Regions from separate parts of the Homo sapiens genome. Here region 2 is linked to region 1. Evidence: promoter capture Hi-C in human tissues and cell types (Jung and others, 2019). All regions are on one chromosome and are shown on one strand. The core of a region is centred on a gene start or on the middle of the fragment in contact, and the rest is flanking DNA. Distances in the headings are between cores, read along the strand shown. Region 1 holds the start of CST7 (cystatin F). Region 2 overlaps ENTPD6 (ectonucleoside triphosphate diphosphohydrolase 6).

Evidence for each region. The method cuts DNA at HindIII sites, captures the fragments that hold promoters and counts their contacts. A contact is called where the count stands out against the background at its distance.
Region 2: a fragment that was not itself captured here is called in contact with the fragment with the promoter of CST7 in region 1 in 2 of the 25 tissues and cell types used here (pancreas and thymus).

What each region holds. Positions count from the first base shown.
Region 1 is chr20:24,946,317-24,950,891 of GRCh38, forward strand. It overlaps CST7 (cystatin F), which reads left to right and starts at 2,953. Exons shown (of 4, transcript NM_003650.4): 1 at 2,953-3,259. The coding sequence starts at 3,190. RefSeq lists an enhancer at 2,619-2,668. The HindIII fragment of the contact is 14,192 bases long and covers 1-4,575 here.
Region 2 is chr20:25,202,781-25,208,009 of GRCh38, forward strand. It overlaps ENTPD6 (ectonucleoside triphosphate diphosphohydrolase 6), which reads left to right. Exons shown (of 15, transcript NM_001247.5): 2 at 3,742-3,810; 3 at 4,296-4,617. The coding sequence starts at 3,757. Among named protein-coding and RNA genes, the nearest start is that of ENTPD6, 9.7 kb to the left of the region's middle. The HindIII fragment of the contact is 3,524 bases long and covers 1,419-4,942 here.

The DNA of each region.
Region 1 (4,575 bases), core at 1,703-4,202:
TGGATTCACAGCTGAATTCTACCAGAGGTACAAAGAGGCGCTGCTACCATTCCTTCTGAAACTATTCCAAACAAGAGAAAAAGAGGGAATCCTCCCTAACTCATTTTATGAGGCCAGCATCATCCTAATACCAAAACCTGGCAGAAACACAACAAAAAGAAAATTTCAGGCCAATATCCCTGATGTCCCATCAATGTGAAAATCCTCAATAAAATATGGCAAACTGAATCCAGCAGCACATCAAAACTTATCCACCATGATCAAGTCAGCTTCATACCTGGAATGCAAGGCTGGTTCAACATATGCAAATCAATAAACGTAATCCAGCATATAAACAGAACCAATGAGAAAAACCACATGATTATCTTAATAGATGCAGAAAAGGCCTTCAACAAAATTCAACACCCCTTCATGCTAAAAACTCTGAATAAAGTAGGTTTTGATGAACTGTATCTTAAAATAATAAGAGCTATTTATGACAAACCCACAGCCAATATCATACTGAATGGACAAAAACTTGAAGCATTCCCTTTGAAAACTGGCACAAGACTAGGATGCCCTCTCTCACCACTCCTATTCAACATAGTGTTGGAAGTTCTGGCCAGGGCAATTAGGCAGGAGAAGGAAATAAAGAGTATTCAAATAGGAAAAGAGGGAGTCAAATTGTCTCTGTTTGCAGATGACATGACTGTATATTTAGAAAACCCCATCATCTCAGCCCAAAATCTCCACAAGCTGATAAGCAACTTCAGCAAAGTCTCAGGATACAAAATCAATGTGCAAAAATCACAAACATTCCTATACACCAATAATAGACAAACAGAGAGTGAAATTATAAGTGAACTCCCATTCACAATTGCTACAAAGAGAATAAAATACCTAGGAATACAACTTACAAGGGATGTGAAGGACCTCTTCAAGGAGAACTACAAACCACTGTTCAAGGAAATAAGAGAGGATACAAATAAATGGAAAAACATTCCATGCTCATGGATAGGAAGAATCAATGTTGTGAAAATGGCCATACTGCCCAAAGTAATTTATAGATTCAGTGATATCCCCCATCAAGCTATCATTGACTTTCTTCACAGAATTGGAAAAAACTACTTTAAAGTTCATAGGGAACCAAAAAAGAGCCTGCATAGCCAAGACAATCCTAAGCAAAAAGAACAAAGCTGGAGGCATCATGCTATCTGACTTCAAACCATACTACAAGCCTACAGTAACCAAAACAGCATGGTACTGGTACCAAAACAGATATATAGACCAATGGAACAGAACAGAAGCCCAGAAATAACACCACACATCAACAACCACCTGATCTTTGACAAACCTGACTAAAACAACCAATGGGGAAAGGATTCCCTATTTAATAAATGGTGTTGGGAAAACTGGCTAGCCATTTGCAGAAAACTGAAACTGGACCCCTTCCTTACACCTTATACAAAAATTAACTCAACATGGATTAAGGACTTAAGACCTAAAACCATAAAAACCCTAGAAGAAAACCTAGGCAGTACCATTCAGGACATAGGCATGGGCAAAGACTTCATGACTAAAACACCAAAAGGAATAGCAACAAAAGCCAAAATTGATAAATGGGACCTAATTAAACTAATGAACTTCCACACAGCAAAAGAAACTGTCATCAGAGTGAACAGGCAACCTACAGAATGGGAGAAAATTTTTGCAATATATCCATTTGACAAAGAGCTAATGTCGAGAATCTACAAGGAACTTAAACAATTGACAAGAAAAAAACAACCCCATCAAAAATTGGGTGAAGGATATGAACAGACACTAAAAAGAAGACATTTATGCAGCCAAGAAACATATGAAAAAACGCTCATCATCACTGGTCATTAGAGAAATGCAAATCAAAACCACAATGAGGTACCATCTCATGCCAGTTAGAATGGTGATCGTTAAAAAGTCAGGAAGCAACAGATGCTGGAGAGGATGTGGAGAAATAGGAACGCTTTTACACTGTTGGTGGGAGTGTAAATTAGTTCAACCATTGTGGAAGACAGTGTGGTGATTCCTCAAGGATCTAGAACCAGAAATACCATTTGACCCAGCAATTTCATTACTGGGTATATACTCAAAAATCATTCTACTATAAAGACACATGCACACGTATGTTTACTGCAGCACTAGTCACAATAGCAAAGACTTGGAACCAACCCAAATGCCCATCAATGGTAGACTGGATAAAGAAAATGTGGCACATATACACCATGGAATACTATGCAGCCATAAAAAAGATGAGTTCATGTCCTTTGCAGGGACATGGATGAAGCTGGAAACCATCATTCTCAGCAAACTAACACAAGAACAGAAAACCAAACACCGCATGTTCTCATTCATAGGTGGGAGTTGAACAATGAGAACACATGGACACAGGGAGGGGAACATCACACACCAAGGACTATCTGGGGATCCGGGGCCAGGGGAGGGATAGCATTTGGAGAAATACCTAATGTAGATGATGGGTTGATGGGTGCAGCAAACCACCATGGCACGTGTATACCTATGTAACAAACCTGCATGTTCTGCACATGTACCCCAGAACTTAAGTAATTAAAAGAAAAAGGAAAATCAAGTGATTTTGCTTTTGAAAATTCCTGCTAATGTTTTTCATGCAACATCTCTTTCGTGTGTGGCTCAGGGGTAGAACATTGCATCAGGATTTGCTCATGGGTCTCATGTCTCTTCCTCCTCCCCCAGCAAATGACGGCTGCTCGGAAACTTTTATAAAGGAAGCGGTTGCTTTGTGGCTGATAGATCTGAAGGTGAAGAGCTTCTGGCCAAAATGATTCAGCAGCAAAACACTCCCCTCCCCAGCACCACGCAGGCAGCCCCCTAGCCCCGCCCCTGCCCCATCCCACAGTGGTTTGCAGGGTGGGGTTCCATGCTGTGGCCCTGGCACCTGCCCCTGGGCTGGGACAGCCCACTGTTCCATGCTGCCCAAGAAGGCTCAGCACAGGCACAAACCATTGCCCGGCACTGGCCCGTGCTGCCTGAGAAGGATTGGCACGGGCACAGACCACTGCCCCCACCTGCCCTGCGCCATCTACCCAAGAAGGCTCGGCACGGGCACCAACCACTGCCTCCAACTGCCCCATGCTGCCTGAGAAGGCACTGCACGGCCACCCCCAACTGCCCCGCACTGTCCCTACCCGGGCAGCCATGCGAGCGGCTGGAACTCTGCTGGCCTTCTGCTGCCTGGTCTTGAGCACCACTGGGGGCCCTTCCCCAGGTAAGTGGCGTTCTCCCCTGTCCGCTCCCCGGGGGTCTCTCCCTGAGATTGGCCACTGGTGCCTTGGGTCTTCCCCAGGGCACTTTCCTAGCTTGGAGCCCCCACAGGACCATGCGGTGGTGAGAGGTGCTGGGAGTGGTGAGAGGGGCAAGGGGCTCCATCTGGCTGCAGCTACCTTTGGGGGTAGCAGGCTACAGGGATGAAGGGTTTGGGGGCTGCCCCAGAAGGCTAGGGGCAAGGGAAGCATCTTCTATTCTCTGGCTCTTCACAGAGGTCTGAGAAAGGTCTAAGTAAGGCAGGTCTCCCGCAGCTCCTCTGCGGGACGGAGGCGACAGGGCAGCCACATGCCTGTGGTTAGCCGCTTCTATCTGATGGCTTGTCATTCCTTCCTGCTGGCTGTTGTCCTGTGACTTGGCTCCAGGGACCCTAACGATCAGACTCTTTCACCCTTCCTGAAATCCACTCCCTGAGGGTCAGCACTCAGGGGGAGGGGGGACAGGGAGGAAAGAGCCACTGCCTGTGCACTGGGAAACTGAGACACAGCCAGGCTAGGTGATTTGCCCAAGTCACACAGCCAGGGACAACCTGCTCTCCCCCAAAGGGAACTGGGCCATGGCCTCCCTGGCACAGGAATCAGACCAGGATACTGATGGGGACTTGGGAGGCCCCCACCTCATTTAACCAACCAGGAAGCTGGCACCAGAGGGCTGAGGTGACCCGCTCAAGTCATATGACCCCCACCCAGCAGACAGGGACAGAAGGGGGCTGGAGCCTGGCCAAAGGGGCCCAGGTGGGGGCTGTGCAGCAGGACCACTGACAAGAGGATGGCTCCAGAGCACCCAAGGGGTTCTTGGAGGGTTCTCACCTCCTCCTGGTGAGTCAGGATACTGAGGACTCAGTGATGCTGGGGGACACTGTGTCGAGCTCCCAGGCCTGGCCTAGGGCGGACGCTGCGACTGAGCAGCCAAGGGGACACGGCAGGCTGGAGGAGGGGCCGGGGGCAGCTTCTGCTCTCACTGATGGGAACATGCCACCGCCACCAGCTCTGGGTAGTGCTCAGCGAACATGGAGCTGACCCATGGCTGGCAGAAGGCTGGGGACAGCATACCCGGCCCTGCCTCCCAGCTTGGGAGCCTTCTTAGCTCACGCAAGGAGCCCTCCACCTGCTTCCCAGCCTCACAGGGGCCTCTCCTCCTGGCCCTGTCCTGATGCAGTGCTGCCTGCCTGCTGCCATTCTGTGCCCTGCCCCTTCGTGTCTCCAAGGTCCAAGGGGGAAGCAGGGAAGAGAGGCAAGTTCACTCCAGAGAAGTGGCTCG
Region 2 (5,229 bases), core at 1,931-4,430, 260 kb after region 1:
CTGAAGAAAATATTAAGTAGTGTTGCAGACCAATTGTACACTAATACTAGTTTCTATATTTGTCCCTCCATTTGCCTTTGCTGGAAATGTTTGTATTTTCTTACAGCTTTTAGCTGCTGTCTAGTGCCCTTTTGTTTTAACTTTCAGGACTCCCTTTAGTAGTCTGGTAGGGCAGATCTAGTGGCAATGAACACGCACATCTTTTATTAATCTGGAAGTGTCTTAATTTCTCCCTCATTTGTGAAGGACAGTTTTGCTGAATGTAGAATTCTCTGTTGACAGATTTTTTTGTTTGTTTGTTTTAGCAGTTTGGGGGTATCTTCCCACTGCCTCTGGCCTCTGAGGTTTCTGCTAAGACATTGGCTAACAGTGTTATTGAGGATTCTTTGTACATCATGAGCCATTCTTTTGCTGCTTTCAATATTCTGCCTTTGTCTTTACACAGTTTGATTATATTGTGTCTTCATGTTGGTCTCTTTGGGTTTATCTTACGTGGGGTTTACTGAGCTTCTTGGATGTTTATATTCATGTCTTTAGTCAAATTTGGGAGGTTTTTAGCTATTCTTTCTTCACATAATTTCTCTGCCCCATTCTCTCTTCTCTTTCTTAGATTTCCATAATGTGCATGGTGCACGTGAGGGAGGCCCCTAAGTCCCTGAGGCTCTGCTCACTTTCCTCATTCTTTTTGTTCCTCTGACTTGATATTTTCAAATGTGCTATGTTGAAGTTTGCTGATTCTTCTACCGACTCAAATCCCTCTGGTCAGAGTTTTCAGTTCAGTTTTGTATTTCTCAGCTCCACAATTTCTGTTTGATTCCTTTTTATAATTTCTCATTTTGTTGTCATATGTTATTTTCTTGATTTCTTTTCATTCTTTATCTGTTTTCCTTCAGCTCTTTTAGCATATTTAAGACAGTCATTTTTAGTCTTGGTCAAGTACATCCAGTGCCTGCATTTCTTCAGGGATGGGTTCTGCCACTTCATTTTCTTCCTCTGAATGAGCTGTGTTTTCCTGTTTCTTTGTATGCCGTGTGATTTTTTTGCTGAACATTGGGCATTTGAAAAACAGCTCCTTGTCCCAGTCTTTGAAGACTAACTCTGTATTGGGAATGGCCCCCACCAAATAGCAGGATCTGCCTAAGTGTGGGGATCAGCTCTGGATGAAGGCCAAAGTTTCCTCTGGTTTCTTCTGAGGATGCATCTTCCCTGGGCCTGTGTATGTGTTTTTTTCAATTTCCCCATATTCGTGGCTGTTTCAAAATCTCTTACTTTCATTATGAATACTTTCAAGCTTCCCTTTGGAATATACCAAGAAATGCATTTGGAGTAACCTTTGTTTTTCTATCATTGTAAATTTAGATTCTGGAATTGGGGTTTGGTGGTGTGATGTGTTGCTCACATGTGGCCAGAACTCCTGCTCCTAAAAGGACTTTGAGATCAAGGAACACATATTTAATCTCCCCTTTATGCCTTGGTTTTAGTTCCTCTTTCCAAGTTGAATAACCAATTTTTCATTGCTGTTTGGTTTAAGTTGGTGCTTTGAAGCTTAATCTCAGTACCCTTAACTCTGAATTATCGAATTTTGATAAAAATGTGTGCCCTTATTTTTTGGTAAGAGAAAGCAGGTCTTAATGTCTGCCGGAACACAATTTATTTGCCTTGTTGGCTCCATTAAACTTTTACAAAGCTTTATATATATATATATATATCTTACTTTCTCAAAGTCTCCCCCAGTCCCTCCTTGGGCCTCAGATGTTCTACTGTATTTCTCACCTGTCATTCTTGCCCCAGGTATGCGTGGGGCTATAGTCATCCTACAGCTTTGCCTAGCAGTGCCCATAACCATTTCCCTGACTTCCTATCTGGGCTCTGAGCTCAGAGTCAGGTGAAACAGAGATCTGTTCCTCAGGCAGCCCAAGACAGATTAGGATGTTGCAGAAAGGTCCGCTCTGCTCCCTCCAGTTCAAGGGAAGGAATTGGGAACCGGGCTGCCGCATTCATCAGGTGGTGCCATGCTGGGGAGGCCTGGGGCAGGGGTGAGTGAAACACCTCAGAGTTCCTGACATCCTGAATGTGGCTGCTTCTGGGCTGGGCATTCTCTTGGTTGCTGTAGATCGTTGCCTGTTTTGCAGAGCTCCTATGCAATATTTTAACCAGTCTCTAGTTGTTTTTAGTGTTTCTCTGTGGGGGAACAAGGGCCTTTGAGCTTCCTCTTTTGCCGTCTTGCTGTGTCCTCTCCCTGTTTATGGATTTTCTACAGGACTCTGTTGTGTGTCTGGTGACGTTATAGAAGGTGCGGGGGTAGAGGAGCAGCCTCTTCCATTCTAGAGAAGGGCTTGGATGCCATGCTGGGCAGCAGCAGCACAAGACAAGCTGAGTCCCTGCCCTGGGGGCTCATGGCCTAGTGGGGAGACACAGACCTACAGGAATCAGGTCTATGAATACTGGTTTCATCACTGCTGGTGGTGGGTAAAGGGAGCTCAGAGAGTGCGTGATGGGGCATGTGCAGGTTGGGGGCATCCGGGAAGGGGGTGGCAGTGACATTTCAGTGGAGGTTTCAGAATGAAGACACGGTGCCAGTGTGGTGGGACAAGTATTCTGGGAATGCGTATCAGTCTGTGCCAGGGGCCTGAGGCAGGGAGAGGCTGAGTTCTAGGGGCAGAAGAAGGCACTGTTCTCAGAGCACTGTGGGCAAGGACGAAAGAGGAGTGCGATGAAGCCACAGGGGCCAGCAGGGACAGGGGCCGGCAGGGACAGGCCCAGGCAGAGGCTGCAACATGATCCTGAGAGCTGTGGGAAGCCCCCGAGTGTGGTGGGACCCAGGCCCAGAATAGGGCTGGGGAGGGGCTGCACGTTGGCACCTGCCAGGAGAGGCTTTTTGCAGCCCTGCCCGTGGCAGATGCTCAGGGAAGGGTGGTTTTTCCTGTCTCCTGCTCCAGTGTGGGTGGCCAGGCCACTGGTGAGGCCTCTCCCCTCGGCACGGGGCACTGTGGCAGTGCTTGTCTTACCTCTCTGGGCCTGAGGATATCCAGCTGTGGCCACAGGCGGGACCTCAGGAAGGAGGGGCCAGGAATGGCCTGCTCCCCGTGCTTTGCCCCGCGGGCCCTGTCCTTCCGTTCTGCTGTGCCCAAACAGCCTCAGGTAGCGCAGGTCGCTGCGGGCTTGCTCCTTTGACTGCTACTGCCCCCTCCTCAGCAGTGCAGCCATGCTGTCCTTGGTTCCACAGAGATGTCACCTCCTGCTGCCCTTCTGTAAAGCCCGCATGTGGCACGTGCTTTCCCTGCAGCCTGTTCTGAGCACATTGAATCCCCACAGTCACGAGGGGCTCTCCAATGAGCAGCCCCACCTTGCAGATGAAACTGGCCCCCTTGAGGGGCATGTTGCCCACTGTCACACGTAGCTGCGGGCAGAGCCGGTGCCACTTCCAGCCCGGCATCCTCCTGATCCCTGCTCCCCTAGGAGTGGCCACTCACCAGGACCGACTGAGAGAGTGAGGGAGGGACAGGCTGATGGACGTTCCCCAAGGTTGGGGGCCCTAGAGTCGGCCCACACTTCTTGTCCTTTGAAGCCTCAGGTTCCCACATGCTGCCTCGCACTGGAGCAGCCAATGAAACTTGAACAAATGCTTTCATTTTGGGTATATCGAACCAAAAACAATGGCACCCAGTGAATTTATTTTGCTACTCTAGTAGAATTTTTGTAGGCTTTGGAAGTACACAGACATTATTTTCTCCTTGGCAGGAATGGGCTATGTGAATGAAAAAAGGTATCCGTTATGAAACTTCCAGAAAAACGAGCTACATTTTTCAGGTTTGTCTGGGGCTCTCAGTAGTTGCCCAAGGGACGGAGTTTAAACCTTTCGAAAAGTAAATTGCCTGAATAGAAGTATAACTGAGGATTGAAAGACTGAATCAGATACGCGCTTCTGTTCCCATGAACAGTTTGGGAACACCATTTACATGTGGCTTCTTTTACATAAATCGCCATGTGTCCCAAGCTGGTGGGACCCTCCCTTAGAGGAGCCAGCCACTGTGGTCTGTGCACCAGGTCAGCAGCTGCAATGTGTGCGACCTTGAGCAGGCTGTCCTGCCTTTATAAACCTCAGTTCCTCTTCTGTAGGATGGGGATCACACCTTCTGGAATAATTATGAGGCTCAAATGAAGCTTCTGATTCCTGGGGGGAACACGGAGCAGTTTCAGGTTGAACATTTTGTCCCTGGGCCTGGGGACGTCTGACTCTCCTTGGATCCTAGCACCCTAACGTGCTTTTCCTGCCTCTCCCCCCTTCCCACCAGCAGCCGCAGCACGGTCCTTGGCAAACAAGGATGAGAAAAATATCCAACCACGGGAGCCTGCGGGTGGCGAAGGTGGCATACCCCCTGGGGCTGTGTGTGGGCGTGTTCATCTATGTTGCCTACATCAAGTGGCACCGGGCCACCGCCACCCAGGCCTTCTTCAGCATCACCAGGGCAGCCCCGGGGGCCCGGTGGGGTCAGCAGGCCCACAGCCCCCTGGGGACAGCTGCAGACGGGCACGAGGTCTTCTACGGGATCATGTTTGATGCAGGAAGCACTGGCACCCGAGTACACGTCTTCCAGTTCACCCGGCCCCCCAGAGGTACCCGCCTCTCATGGCAGGGCTCTCGGGATCTCCTCCCCTGTGCTACAGTGTTGGCCGGGTCCCCTGCCACAGACTCACCTGGGAGCTTGTCTAAATGCAGTTTCCCAGAGATGCTGACGCTGGTATGGGCTGGGGTCCAAGCATCTGAATTTCCCGGGAGTCCCAGATCACTCTTACACTAGTGAGTGGTGACCATGCTGAAGGGCAGCTGAGACCTTGAGGTGTTTGGTGGCCTGTCCCCTCCCCACATTCACCAGCAGGTCAGGTGGCTAGGACCATGATTTAGGCCAGTGGTTGTGTTTGGGGCTTTGTGGGGAGTTCAGGCAGGAAGTATCCCCAGATTCAGTCCCATGGGAGCCAGAAAATCAGGAAAGTCAGATAAATAATAAAGGCTCCTGGGCTTGACCGGGAGCTGCCAGGTGGGCCAAGATGGCCAGGGGCAACAGCCGAGAGGGGTCTCAGCTGGATAAGGGAGCTGGAGCCTGGGCTTCGTTGGCTATGCTTCTAGGGTGGGCCTCAGGCCGGGGTGGGCGGCTTCTCTTGAGGGGTCCCCCTCGCCACCCGGTTCCTCTGCTCTCCAACCACCCTCTTCCCTTGGTTCCCTGATGC